3 separate regions of the Homo sapiens genome follow, and regions 1 and 3 are each linked to region 2. Evidence: promoter capture Hi-C in 16 types of primary human blood cells and fetal thymus (Javierre and others, 2016). All regions are on one chromosome and are shown on one strand. Each heading gives the region's core, a stretch centred on a gene start or on the middle of the fragment in contact. The rest is flanking DNA. Distances are from core to core; before and after follow the strand shown. Region 1 overlaps RAD17 (RAD17 checkpoint clamp loader component). Region 2 holds the start of CCNB1 (cyclin B1). Region 3 overlaps AK6 (adenylate kinase 6).

Evidence for each region. The method cuts DNA at HindIII sites, captures the fragments that hold promoters and counts their contacts. A CHiCAGO score of 5 or more calls a contact.
Region 1: a fragment that was not itself captured here is called in contact with the fragment with the promoter of CCNB1 in region 2 in 12 of 17 cell types (non-activated CD4 T cells, neutrophils, naive CD8 T cells and 9 more); the score reaches 10.6 in non-activated CD4 T cells.
Region 3: a fragment that was not itself captured here is called in contact with the fragment with the promoter of CCNB1 in region 2 in 17 of 17 cell types (neutrophils, total CD8 T cells, monocytes and 14 more); the score reaches 21.2 in neutrophils.

The regions. Positions count from the first base shown.
Region 1 is chr5:69,395,979-69,400,140 of GRCh38, reverse strand. It overlaps RAD17 (RAD17 checkpoint clamp loader component), which reads right to left. Exons shown (of 19, transcript NM_133338.3): 16 at 3,595-3,744; 17 at 1-92. Among named protein-coding and RNA genes, the nearest start is that of MARVELD2, 17 kb to the left of the region's middle. The HindIII fragment of the contact is 7,678 bases long and covers 1-4,162 here.
Region 2 is chr5:69,164,790-69,168,778 of GRCh38, reverse strand. It overlaps CCNB1 (cyclin B1), which reads right to left and starts at 1,629. Exons shown (of 9, transcript NM_031966.4): 1 at 1,496-1,629; 2 at 701-871; 3 at 436-606. The coding sequence starts at 1,516. RefSeq lists enhancers at 1,374-1,603, 984-1,949. The HindIII fragment of the contact is 10,262 bases long and covers 1-3,989 here.
Region 3 is chr5:69,347,274-69,351,694 of GRCh38, reverse strand. AK6 (adenylate kinase 6) reads left to right here. Exons shown (of 5, transcript NM_016283.5): 5 at 1-711. It also overlaps the pseudogene NDUFB9P1. Among named protein-coding and RNA genes, the nearest start is that of CCDC125, 17 kb to the right of the region's middle. The HindIII fragment of the contact is 3,012 bases long and covers 1,303-4,314 here.

The sequences.
Region 1 (4,162 bases), core at 1,395-3,894, 230 kb before region 2:
GCAAGGTATGGCAATAGCTGAGTTTGGAGGCATAAAGCTGGTAGGCAGAAGTCAGGAAAAAGTGCTTTTGCTGCCAGGCAATTTTCCCGATACTGTATAGAAAAGAAAAAAAAAAGATGAAAGGAAAAATGAAATTAAAAATATGTATTCCTAGACAAACTAAGTTTATTATATAAACTTACACAATAAGTTTATATTAACTTGTGGGTTTATATATCACAAATATACTTTTAATAGCTTATTTAAGTAGTCCTTTATAGTTTTTTTAGCATCGTTTAATAAAGTATTTTACCTACACAACTATTCCACATTTAATAAACAACAATTTTTAAAAGACATTGAATGTATAAGAAAACCAAATTTAAAACTCAAAGGAATTGTTTATGAGCACACACACATCATAAATTACACGAAAATAGTTTTCAATGAAATAATTTGTTTTCTTTAGTCAACACGTTATGCTGAGCAAGAGAAAAGCACAATCCCTGCCTTCAAGAAGCTAACAGTCTTAGATAATTTATATGCAGCAACAATGCAAAATTAATATATATGCTATAAAAGACAAAGCAAGTCAATGAGATATAAATTGCTTAAAAGTCATTAAATTCTCCAAGAAATCTGTTGGAAAAAATGTCCTAGGTAATAAATTATAGGGTAATTTTCAGCTGTATGATTTTAGAACTGGAAGACATCTCAGAGACGACCCAGTCCAGGGGTCACGAATTCAGATATTACAGAAGTCAAGCAGGCAATATAAGTGAATGAACCAGCTGGGGACAGTGGTGCCTACTACTCTCATCTCAAAGGGGCAGATGCTACATGGCGAGGTGATTGTTGCTACGCAGAAATATGAGCCAGTGTTATACTTCACTTTCATTTTTTTGAGAGATGGGGGTCTCACTCTGTTGCCCAGGCTGGAGTGCAGTGGCACAATCATTGTTCACTGCAAACTCTGCCTCCCAGGCTTATGCAATCCTCCCAATTCAGCCTCCCAAGTAGCTGGGACTAGGTAGGAAAAACAAAAAAAATTTTTCCTTTTTCCTGTAGATATGGGATCTCACTATATTGCTGGTCTCAAATTCCTGGTGTTTGCCACCACACCCAGCTAATTTTTTTATTATTTTTTTTTTTATACAGATGGGGTTTCACCATATTGCCCAGGCAGGTCTCAAACTCCTGGGCTCTAGTGATCCTTCCACCTCAGCTTTCCAAAGTGCTCGGATTACAGGTGTGAGCCACTGCACCTGGCCTCTTTTTTTTTTTTTTTTTTTTAACCAGGAGATTCCAGAAATTCTGAAGCTAGAAATTCATATCTAACTTTTTTTTTTTCTTTCTGAGACAGAGTCTTTTTCTGTCGCCTAGGCTGGAGTGCAGTGGCATGATCTCGGCTCACTGCAACTTCTGCCTCCCGGGTTCACGCGATTCTCCTGCTTCGGCCTCCTGAGTAGCTGGGATTACAGGAGCGCACCACCACACCTGGCAAACTTTTGTATTTTTAGTAGCGATGGGGTTTCACCATGTTAGTCAGGCTGGTCTCGAACTCCTGACCTTGTGTTCTGCCCGCCTCAGCCTCCCAAAAGTGCTGGGATTACAGGTGTGAGTCACAGCGCCCAGCCGAAATTCATATCTGACTTTTAATCATTAGTCTGATTTTTAAAGATTGGCAATTCATTTTGAAAACTGTTGTGTATTTTGTTTTCAACTTGTGTGCCTCCCATTTTTTACCTCTAAATAATTCAATCATCTACATTTTTAGCTGTGGAGAGTAAGAACACATTAGGTGAATACCTTGTCCATATAGAGGCAAGGCCAAGATTTCTTCTCCTTTCTTTGATTAATTTAAATTGACAAATAAGCTCTGTATGTATTTATAGGTATACAACATGATGTTCTGAAATATGTATATATGGTAGAATGGCTAAATTGAGCCAATTAACATATGCATTACCTTACATACATATATTTTTTGTGTGTGGTGAGAACACTTAAAATCTACCGTTTTAGTGATTTTCTTTTTTTTTTTTTAGATGGAGTCTCGCTCTGTCTCTCAGGCTGGAGTGCAGTGGCGCCATGTCAGCTCACTGCAAGCTCCGCCTCCTGGGTTCACGCCATTCTCCTGCCTCAGCCTCCAGAGTAGTTGGGACTACAGGCGCACGCCGCCACACCCGGCTAAGTTTTTTTATTTTTAGTACAGACAGGGTTTCATCGTGTTAGCCAGGATGGTCTCCATCTCCTGACCTCGTGATCTGCCCGCCTCAGCCTCCCAAAGTGCTGGGATTACAGGCGTGAGCCACCATGCCCGGCCATGATTTTCAAATACATGACACATTGTTGTTAATAGTCACCATGTTATACAACATATCTCTTGAACTTAAAACTTATTCCTCCTGGCCAGCGAGGCTCCGTCTCAAAAACCAAAAACAAAAAAAACTTATTCCTCCTGCCTAACTGAAATTTTATATACTAGGGATTTCTATTTTCCAATCAGCATTCTCAGGTTGAACTAGGGTTTATTTATTTACAATTTTTTTCTTTTTCTTGTAGATATGGGATCTCACTATGTTGACCAGGCTGGTCTCAAACTCCTGGGCTCAAGTGATCCTCTTGTTTTGGCCTTCCACAGTGCTGGGATTACAGGTGTGAGCCACCATGCCTGGCCCTAAAGTTTGTTTTTAATTGAAACTGAAATATAACTATGCAGCTGGGCACAGTGGCTCATGCCTGTAATCCCAGCACTTTGAGAGGCCAAGGCGGGCAGATCACTTAAGGTCAGGAGTTCAAGAACAGCCTGGCCAACATGGCAAAACCCCATCTCTACTAAAAATACAAAAATTAGCTGGGCATGGAGGTAGATGCCTGTAATCCCAGCTACTCAGGAGGCTGAGGTGGGAGAATTGCTTGAACCTAGGAGGTAGAGGTTGCAGTGAGCAGAGATGGCACCACTGCACTCCAGCCTAGGCAAGAGAACGACTCTGTCTGAATAAAAATAAAAAATAAAAAATAAAATATGGCCGAGCATGGTGTCTCACATTTGTAATCCCAGCACTTTGAGAGGCCAAGGCAAGAGGATCATGAGGTCCAAAGATCGAGACCAACCTGGCCAACATGGTGAAACCCTGTCTCTACTAAAAATACAAAAAATTAGCCAGGCGTGGTGGCTGGCGCCTGTAATCCCAGCTACCTGGGAGGCTGAGGCAGGAGAACTGCTTGAACCCGGGAGGCGGAGGTTGCAGTGAGCCGAGATCATGCCATTGCATTCCAGCCTGGGCAAAAAGAGCGAAACTCCGTCTCAAAAAATAAAAAAATAAAAAATAAAATAAAATGTAACTACGCTTTGATTCCAATAAAACTGAACTAATATTTTCAAATTGTGATGGTCTTTTTTCCCTTAAAAAATTGTACAAGCATTTAAGAGTCACCTTTTTATGTTTTATAAAAACTCAGAATCTAATTGTGGACCTTAGCAACTATTTTATTAAAAATGAAATATTTTTTCCTTTGTTATGTTTTAAAGAAAATAACTGCTTTGAGTTATAATTCACGTACCATAAAGTTCACATATTGAAAGTACAGAATTTTTTTTTTTTTTTTTACCTTTTTATTTATTAGAAACCACTGAGGTTTGTGCAAGGGTCGAAAACTTGATCCTCCTCCTTGGCAATGAGCATATCCTCGGGCTTTGTTGGAATGCATCACACCTCTCGTAGCTATAGATGTGCTATATTCCCTGAGTAAAGAGCGTGTCTAACAAATGAGACAAGATGTGAAAGAAAATAGATTTATAAAAGAGCATTACTGGTATTCCTGATATATACAAAAATACTAACCGTATTTAGTTTCTATGTGTTCACTTTCTTCAACATCACTACAGCCCTATAAATAACAGCACTATAAACTTATCTAAAGCAAATTCCACTGGGACATAGCCATCAAATTAAATGTGTAAACCCTGACTGGATCTTGGACAGGGGTGGAGGAAACAACTTTGAATACATTTTTGAGGCAAATGAGGAAATCTGAATAGGGACAATATATTGCTAGATTAGTGTGAAGTTTCTCTGGAAAGTTAACTTAATTATATAACTAATTAGTTAATGTAACTAATTAGTTAATATAACTAAAATATAATTGAAACTAAAATATGACTATGCAGCTGGGCGCA
Region 2 (3,989 bases), core at 380-2,879:
AATTCAAGAGAACATTCTATGTTTACGCCAATAAATTCTGCAGAGATGGCTTGTAGTTGGATAACAAAGCCTTTGGCTCAGACAGCTACTACTTAATATCATTAACGAAGGAATATAAGACAGTTGACAATTAAAAGCATAGATTCTGAAGCCAGACAGCCTGAGCTTGAATCCCATATGGGCCACTTACCTGTGTGACCCTGACATAACCTCTCTAAAGCCATGATTTAAATAGTAGAGGTGACAATACCTCAGAGAGTACGTGTAAAGATTATGTGAGTTAATGCATGTAAAATGTTAGGCAGAGCTTGCCTCATGCTAAGCACTCAATAAATGGTATTAATATTACTATTCATTTGAATGCTCTTGCATGTATCAGTGAAATAAGGGACAAGAAATAATCAACAGACTCTACAATGGTAAGAATAAGTTTACCAAAATAGGCTCAGGCGAAAGTTTTTCTTCTTTAACAGGCTCAGGTTCTGGCTCAGGTTCTGGCTCTGGCACTGGCTCAGACACTGGCACTGGCACCAGCATAGGTACCTTTTCAAGAGGTTTTGGTAGTTTTTTATCAATGACTTTTCCAGTAGCTGAAGGTTTTGCTTCCTGTAGATGAAACAGAGAGAATGAAATGTTTCTGCATCAAAGGCCACAGTTGGAAGGCGGGCTCTTACAGAAGTTAGGTCAGGAAGAGAGTTACCTTCTTCATAGGCATTTTGGCCTGCAGTTGTTCACTGACTTTGTTACCAATGTCCCCAAGAGCTGTTCTTGGCCTCAGTCCGGGCTTGGAGGTTGCAGCAGGGGCCGTAGGAACGCGCTTTGCGCCTGCCATGTTGATCTTCGCCTTATTTTCAGCATTAATTTTCGAGTTCTGAAAGAAGCAAGACCACTTTAAGAGCTGATCCACGAAGGCTCGAGTAAGTCAAGGGTTAATTAAGGTGGGGCACAAGGAGAAGTTCCCAGAAAGAAAGCCGACTAAAAATGGGTTCCGAGGGAAAACATGGGTCCCAGAGTCTACTCTGCGGCCGTGACAAGTCAGTTTCCGCCGACCTCTACATTTACCAATTGAGGGATTCCCTGATTAGTCCTGGCCAGCCCTAAAATACCGAGAATTTACATTTGAAAGGAAACCGAAAAAGCCTCCAATTGCAGACACCTTCTCTCTGGGAAGGGGGTTACAGAGTTGCTGGCGGGCCCACTCAGGGACCCTCTATCACTTTTTCAAAAGGTTCCCAGTCGACTCTCCACCTCCCCAAAACATTTATCCAATATCCGTCCAGTTCTCTTTCTCACCTTCCTCCCTCCATCCATCGTCCCCCACACTCTCTCACCAGGCCTGGGCCCACCTCGGCGCTCTCTTGGTGAGTCCCCTCCCACCTTCCTCCCCAAATCGCTCCTGCGGCCCTCTCCCGCTCGGGAGGCTCCCGCAGGCGAGGCAGGGAGAGCAGGCAGCAGCTAAGAAGGCCGCGTTAGTTCGCAGTCCGAAGCGGCTCACCCTGGTGACTCGGAGCGCCATGGCTTCCTCTTCACCAGGCAGCAGCTCAGCGGGGAGAAGCAGAACACCGGAGGCCCGACCAGCCAAGGACCTACACCCAGCAGAAACCAACAGCCGTTCCGCCGCAGCACGCCGAGAAGAGCCAGCCTAGCCTCAGATTTAAACCCCGCACTGCTCCCTCCTTATTGGCCTGTTCGTGGCACTCACTCCCTTCCCATTGGCGGCTGCCGGTCGCAGAGAATGCGTTTCCAGGGCGATCGCGCGAAGGCGTTCGAGAGGGGCGGGGCCACAGTGAGGCTAGGCCGGAAGGCCTGGCCAGGCTCTCACGTGGTCTGCCTCTGCGCCTGCGCTCTCGGGCAGCTGCAGCGGCCACCTGGAGAGCAGTGAAGCCAGTGCGCCGCCCACCTGGAAAGGTTAGCCGGGCAAGAGTGTGCGTTGCCAATGCCAGCTCAGGAAAGGCCTAGTGGCCTTTGGAAGGTGACAGAGGCGCGGCCACAGTCTCAGAAGTGTCAAAAGTAGTTTTGGATCTAGTGTTGCACACTTTCCATTTCTACGGTAGCAGCAATAATATAGTTCATGAAAGGCTTTAATAGACATTCTTTCATTTGATCGTTGCAACAACTCTCTGGGTTGGAGGAACTGAAGCTCAGCGACTTAGATGACTTTGCCAGGGTCACACATTAGCAACGGGGGAACTGAATTTAGGGTTTTTTTTTTTGAGGGGGAGGGAGGGGGTGTATCCGTGTTGTTTTCACAACACTGATTGTCCCTTAACAATATTACTTGATTACTTCAAGATTGTCCAGTTTCCCAAGGCCAATTGTTTTGTTTGTTTTAGCTTTCTATTTGGAAATAATTTCATACTTAGACCAGTTGCCAACAAAAATCTTGTAAGGAATATTTCTATGCCCTTTACTCAGATTCAACTATCCTTAACATGTATTTGCCTCTCATGGGAAAATCAGGAAAAACTAAACAAAAAGACATTTTACCCCATTTGCTTTGTCATTTGCTCAGATTCTCTCTAGATCCAAAGAAAAACAAGAGGGTTCTTTTTGCCTTCTACTCCTCAAAACACACCAGCAGCTCAGCAATTGGAGGGGAGGCTGAAGGACAAAAACATTGCTATCCCATAGAGCAACGGTATAAGAGCCAATAGAGACTCCTGGCGCTGGAAGTCACGGATCCGAAAGAAGGCGCCCAATCATTTGGTTTCTTTGGATCGTTATTGAGTCTTCTGTCATCATAGTTCACCCTCCTACTCGAATGCCTCCCGTGGGGCCCTTACCCTTGCTCTCCTCTGCCTGGAATGCCCGCCTCTTCTTGCATTCAAGCCCCTGGGTTCTATTCAGGTAACTCCCATTCATCCTTCAGTTCTGTGTTCAACATCCATTCTCACTCAGTCTTTCTGGGTTTGATCAATCCTTCCTCGCCCCATGCAGGGGCGAGAGGCAAGGGGCGAAGCAGGATTACTTATCCTCTGTGTTCCAGTTTAAAAATTTTTTTTTTTACTTTTTTTTGAGACGGAGTCTCGATCTGTCGCCCAGGCTGGAGTGCAGTGGTGCGATCTCGACTCACTGCAACCTCCACCTCCAGGGTTCACTCCATTCTCCTGCCTCAGCCTCCCGAGTAGCTGGGACGGCAGGCGCCCGCCACAACGGCCGGCTAATTTTTTGTATTTTTGGTAGAGACGGGGTTTCACCATGTTAGCCAGGATGGTCTCGATCTCCTGACTTGGTGATCCGCCCGCCTCGGCCTCCCAAAGTGCTGCGATTACAGGCGTGAGCCACCACGCCCGGCCAAATTTTTCCTTTTATATGCTTTATTTTTTAGAGCAGTTTTAGGTTCGCAGCAAAACTTAGCAGAAAGTATAGAGCATTTCACCTGCCTTCCCCACTATTGACACCCCACATTAAAGTTGTACTTTAATTATAATCTGTTAACCTACATTGACACCACAGTATTACCCAAAGTCCATAGTTTACATTAAGGTTCACTCTAGGTGTTGTGTCTTCTACGGGTTTTGACAAATATATAATGACGTATAATGTCCACCCGCCTCAACCTCCCAAAGTGCTGGTATTGAAGGCGTGAGCCACTGCACCTGGCGGTCAGAATGGTTTCTTTTACTCAAATATGCATTTAAGGTTCTTCCATGTTTTTTTCATGGGTTGGGATCTCATTTTATTTTAGCCCTGAATAATATTGCATTGTCTGGATGTACTAGTTTATTTATTCAGTCACCTACTAAGTGACATCTTGATTGCGTCCAAGTTTTGGTATGAATATAACTGCTACTAACATCTGTGTGCAGATTTTTGAGTGGACGTAAGTTGTTTTTGTTTTTCGTTTGTTTGTTTGTTTTTTGAGACGGAGTCTTGCTTTGTTGCCCAGGCTGGAGTGCGGTGGCGCCATCTAGGCTCACTGCAAGCTCCGCCTCCCGGGTTCACGCCATTCTCCTGCCTCAGCCTCCCAAGTAGCTGGGACTATAGGC
Region 3 (4,421 bases), core at 1,559-4,058, 180 kb before region 2:
GAAAAAAAGTTAAGTGTTGTACTCGATACAAAGTTCAAAAGGTACAAAAGAGCATGTTGAAAAGTTAGGTCTCCCTTCCAGACCACCCTATCCCCAGGCACCCCAGGTTCCTTCCCTTTAGGAAATAATGTTACTGGTTTCCTATATGTCTTTTTAGAGGTTTTATGCCTGCACAGTGTATATGTACATGTGTACATTTTTTAAAGAATATAACAGTATATTATGCACACTATTCTGTACCTTTCTTTTTTCACTTACTATATTTGAAGATTATATCATCTCAGTACAGACCTCCCTGTTCTTTTTTTTAGTTGAGATAGATATACATATCATACAATAAAATTTACCATTTTGAAGTGTATAATCAGAACCGGGTATGGTGGCTTATGCCTGTAATCCCAGCAAATGGGGAGGCTGAGGTGGAGAATCGCTTGAGGCAGGAGTTCAAGACCAGCCTGGGCAACATAGTGAGACCTTAGACTCTAAAAATAAACATAAATAAAATTTATAATCCGTTGGTTTTTAGCTTATTAACAAGGTTATGTAACTGTCACCACTGTGGAGGAAGCAGTGATGATAAAGGGAACTCCTATACCCTTTAGCAGTCACTCTCTATTCTTTCCTCCTCATCCCCTTGCAGTCACTAGTCTACTTTCTGTCTCTATGGATTTGCATATTCTGGATATTTCATATAAATGGGATTATACAGTATGTGGCCTTTTGTGTCCAGTTTCTTTCACTTAGCATAATGTTTTCAAGGTTCATCTAAGTTATAGCATGTACCAATATCTCATTCCTTTTTATGGTTGAATAATATTCCATTATATGGATTTACCACATTTTGCTTATGTTTCCATCACTTGCACAATTGGGTTGTATCCACTTTGGGTATTGTGAAGTTGAATACATAATAGTAGCATACTATGAGCATTCATGTACAAGATTCCATGTGGATGTATGTTTTCAGTTTTCTTAGGCATATACCTGGGAGGGGAATTGCTGGGTCATAGGGCAACCATGTTTAACTTTTTGAGGAAATGCCAAACTGGTTTCCAAAGTGGTTGCAGCATTTTATGTTCCCACCATCAATGTATTAGGGACTCAGTTTCTTCACATTCTTGCTAACACTTGTTACGGTCTATATTTGTTGATTTTTACCATTTCAGCGATTTTTATTAGGCTAAGTGTGTGTGTATGTTCTGTAACTTACTTCACTTGCAGGCATGACAGGGTGAGGTCTGTCTCTCTACATGGGCCACTCCCGGGGTCTGGTCACAATATACCACCACAGGGGGCAAAGCTTCAGTCCTAGACCACCAGTTGGGATTTCCTCCTGCAGCTGCTTAACCTCTCACTCCTGGCTTTGCCTCAGCAGTTTCTTCCACTGCTCTCTCTTGGCTAAGTAATCAGGGTACATTGCCTTCTCAGAAGGATTCCAGTCATCTAAGCACCACTCCAGAGACTTGTAGCATATCACTCGTATCTCTCATAGGAAGTACCCCCAGAGAGTCAGGGAAGAGAATGGCTGTGAATGCTGACGATACCAGAATTCCTCTGCCTCCCTCAGCAGTGGGGTAGCCTCCATCATACCCTTTTTTTTTTTCCTATGCTCTTCAAACCAGGCTCTCATCAAACAGGCAAAATATACCATTATTTATCTCTGGATGCACCATGGCTTGAGGTGGTACAGCGCCTGGTTACAAAGCAGCAACACCTTCTGGTGATAGGTCAAGTAGGCCCTCCAGCATCGAGAACACCATGACTGCTTGATCCCATCTTTTTTTTTTTTTGAGACGGAGTCTTGCTCTGTCGCCCAGGCTGGAGTGCAGTGGTGCAATCTCGGCTCACTGCAAGCTCCACCTCCCGAGTTCACGCCATTCTCCTGTCTCAGTCTCCCAAGTAGCTGGGACTACAGGCGCCTGCCACCACGCCCGGCTAATTTTTGTATTTTTAGTAGAGACGGGGTTTCACCATGTCAGGCAGGATGGTCTCGATCTCCTGACCTCGTGATCTGCCCACCTTGGCCTCCCAGAGTGCTGGGATTAGAGGCGTGAGCCACCGCGCCTGGCCTTTTTTTTTTTTTTTTTTTTTTTTTTTTTGAGGCAGTCTCACTCTTGTTGCCCAGGCTGGAGTGCAATGGCGTGATCTCAGCTCACTGCAGGTTCAAGGGTTCAACCTCCACCTCCCAGGTTCAAGCGATTCTCTTGCCTCAATCTCCCAAGTAGCTGGGATTACAGGCATGCACCACCATACCCGGCTGATTTTGTATTTTTAGTAAAGACAGAGTTTCTCCCTCGAACTCCCAACCTCAGGTAATCTGCCCGCCTCAGCCTCCCAAAGTGCTGGGATTGCAGGCGTGAGCCACCTTGCCTGGCAACTCCCATCTTTTTTATTATAACTATACTAGTGGGTGAGTAGTATATCACATTTTGGTTTTGATTTACATTTCTCTAATGATTTATGATGAGCATCTTTTCATGTGCCTATTGGTTTATCTTCTTTGGATCCCTCATCTTTTTAATGTTTGCATAAAATGGCATTAATGAGGCTAGGCCCAGTGGCTCATGCCTGTAATCCCAACACTTTGGGAGGCCGAGGTGGGTGGATCACCTGAGGTCAGGAGTTTGAGACCAGCCTAACCAACATGGTGAATCCTTGTTTCTACTAAAATACAAAAATTAGCCGGGCGTGGTGGTGGGTGCCTGTAATCTCAGCTACTTGAGAGGCTGAGGCAGGAGAATCGCTTGAACCGAGGAGGTGGAGGTTGCAATGAGCCGAGATTGCACCATTGCACTCCATCCTGGGCAATAAGAGTGAAACTCCCATCTCAAAAAAAAAAAAAAAAAAAAAAAGCCATTAATGATATGCCAAGTACCCAGGCACTGTGGCTCACACTTGTAATCCTAGGACTTTGGGAGGCCAAGGCGGGCGGATGACTTAAGCCCAGGAGTTTGAGACCAACCTGGCCGACATGGTGAAACACTGTTCCTAAAAATAAATAAATAAATTAATTAATTAAGTAAATAGGCCAGGCCGGGCGCGGAGGCTCACGCCTGTAATCCCAGCACTTTGGGAGGTCGAGGCAGGCAGATCACGAAGTCAGGAGATTGAGACCATCCTGGCTAACACGGTGAAACCCCGTCTCTACTAAAAATACAAAAAATTAGCCAGGCGTGATGGCAGGCACCTGTAGTCCCAGCTACTCGGGAGGCTGAGGCAGGAGAATGGCATGAACCCGGGAGGCAGAGCTTGCAGTGAGCCGAGATAGTGCCTCTGCACTCCAGGCTGGGCCACACTCTGTCGCAAAAAAAAAAAAAATAGGTCAGGCATGGTGGCTCACTCCTGTAATCTCAGCACTTTGGGAGGCCTAGGTGGGAGGATCACTTGAGCTCAGAAGTTCGAGACCAGCCTGGGCAACATAGTGAGACCTCGTCTCTATTTAAAAAAAAGAAAAAAGAGGCTGGGCATAGTGGCTCATGCCTGTAATCCCAGCACTTTAGGAGGCCAAGGCAGGTGGATCACTTGAGATTAGGAGTTCGAGACCAGCCTGGCCAACATGGTGAAATCTCGTCTCTACCAAAAATACAAAAACTAGCCAGGCATGGTGGTGCATGCCTGTAATCCCAGCTACTCCGGAGGCCGAGGCAGGAGAATCGCTTTAACTCAGGCAGCGGAGGTTGGAGTGAGCTCAGATTGTGCCACTGCATTCCAGCCTGGGCAACAGAGTGAGACACTGTCTCCAAAAAAATGAATAAATAAATAAAAATAAAATAATAGCCCAGAGTGGTGGCATGCACCTATAGTCCCAGCTACTCAGGAGGCTGACGCAGGAGGATCACCTGAGCCTGAGGAGGTCGAGGCTGCAGTGAGCTGTGATTGAGCCACTGCACTCCATCCTGGGCGGACAGAGTGAGAACTTGTCTCAAAAAAAAAGACATGCCAAGTTTGATTTAATCAGTCCTCTCACTAATGGACATTTAGGCTGTTTCCAGCTTTTTACTATTACAATGATGCAAGAATAATAAAGAGTAAATATATTACTATGACATAAACTTCTAAACACATTTCAAAAGTGAATTCTTTATCCACATGACCACTCTCTGAGGTAGATGTTATTATTATTTCCATTACAGGAACCAAGGCACAGAAGAGTTAAGTGGCTTATCCAAGATAATAGCTAAAAAGTATTAGCTTCAGTGTTCTATCTTAGGCAGGCTTTCACTCACTAAGTTGTGTTCCCTAATGCATATGCGTTATGCATATGAGCAAGTTTATCTGTTGAGTAAATTCCCAAAGACAAATTGTACGCAAGCTTAACATTTAGTAGACTAATTTTTTTTCTTTTTTTTTTTTGAGACAGGCTCTTGCCATGTCACCCAGGCTGGAATGCTGTGGCACCATCATAGCTCACTGCAGCCTCG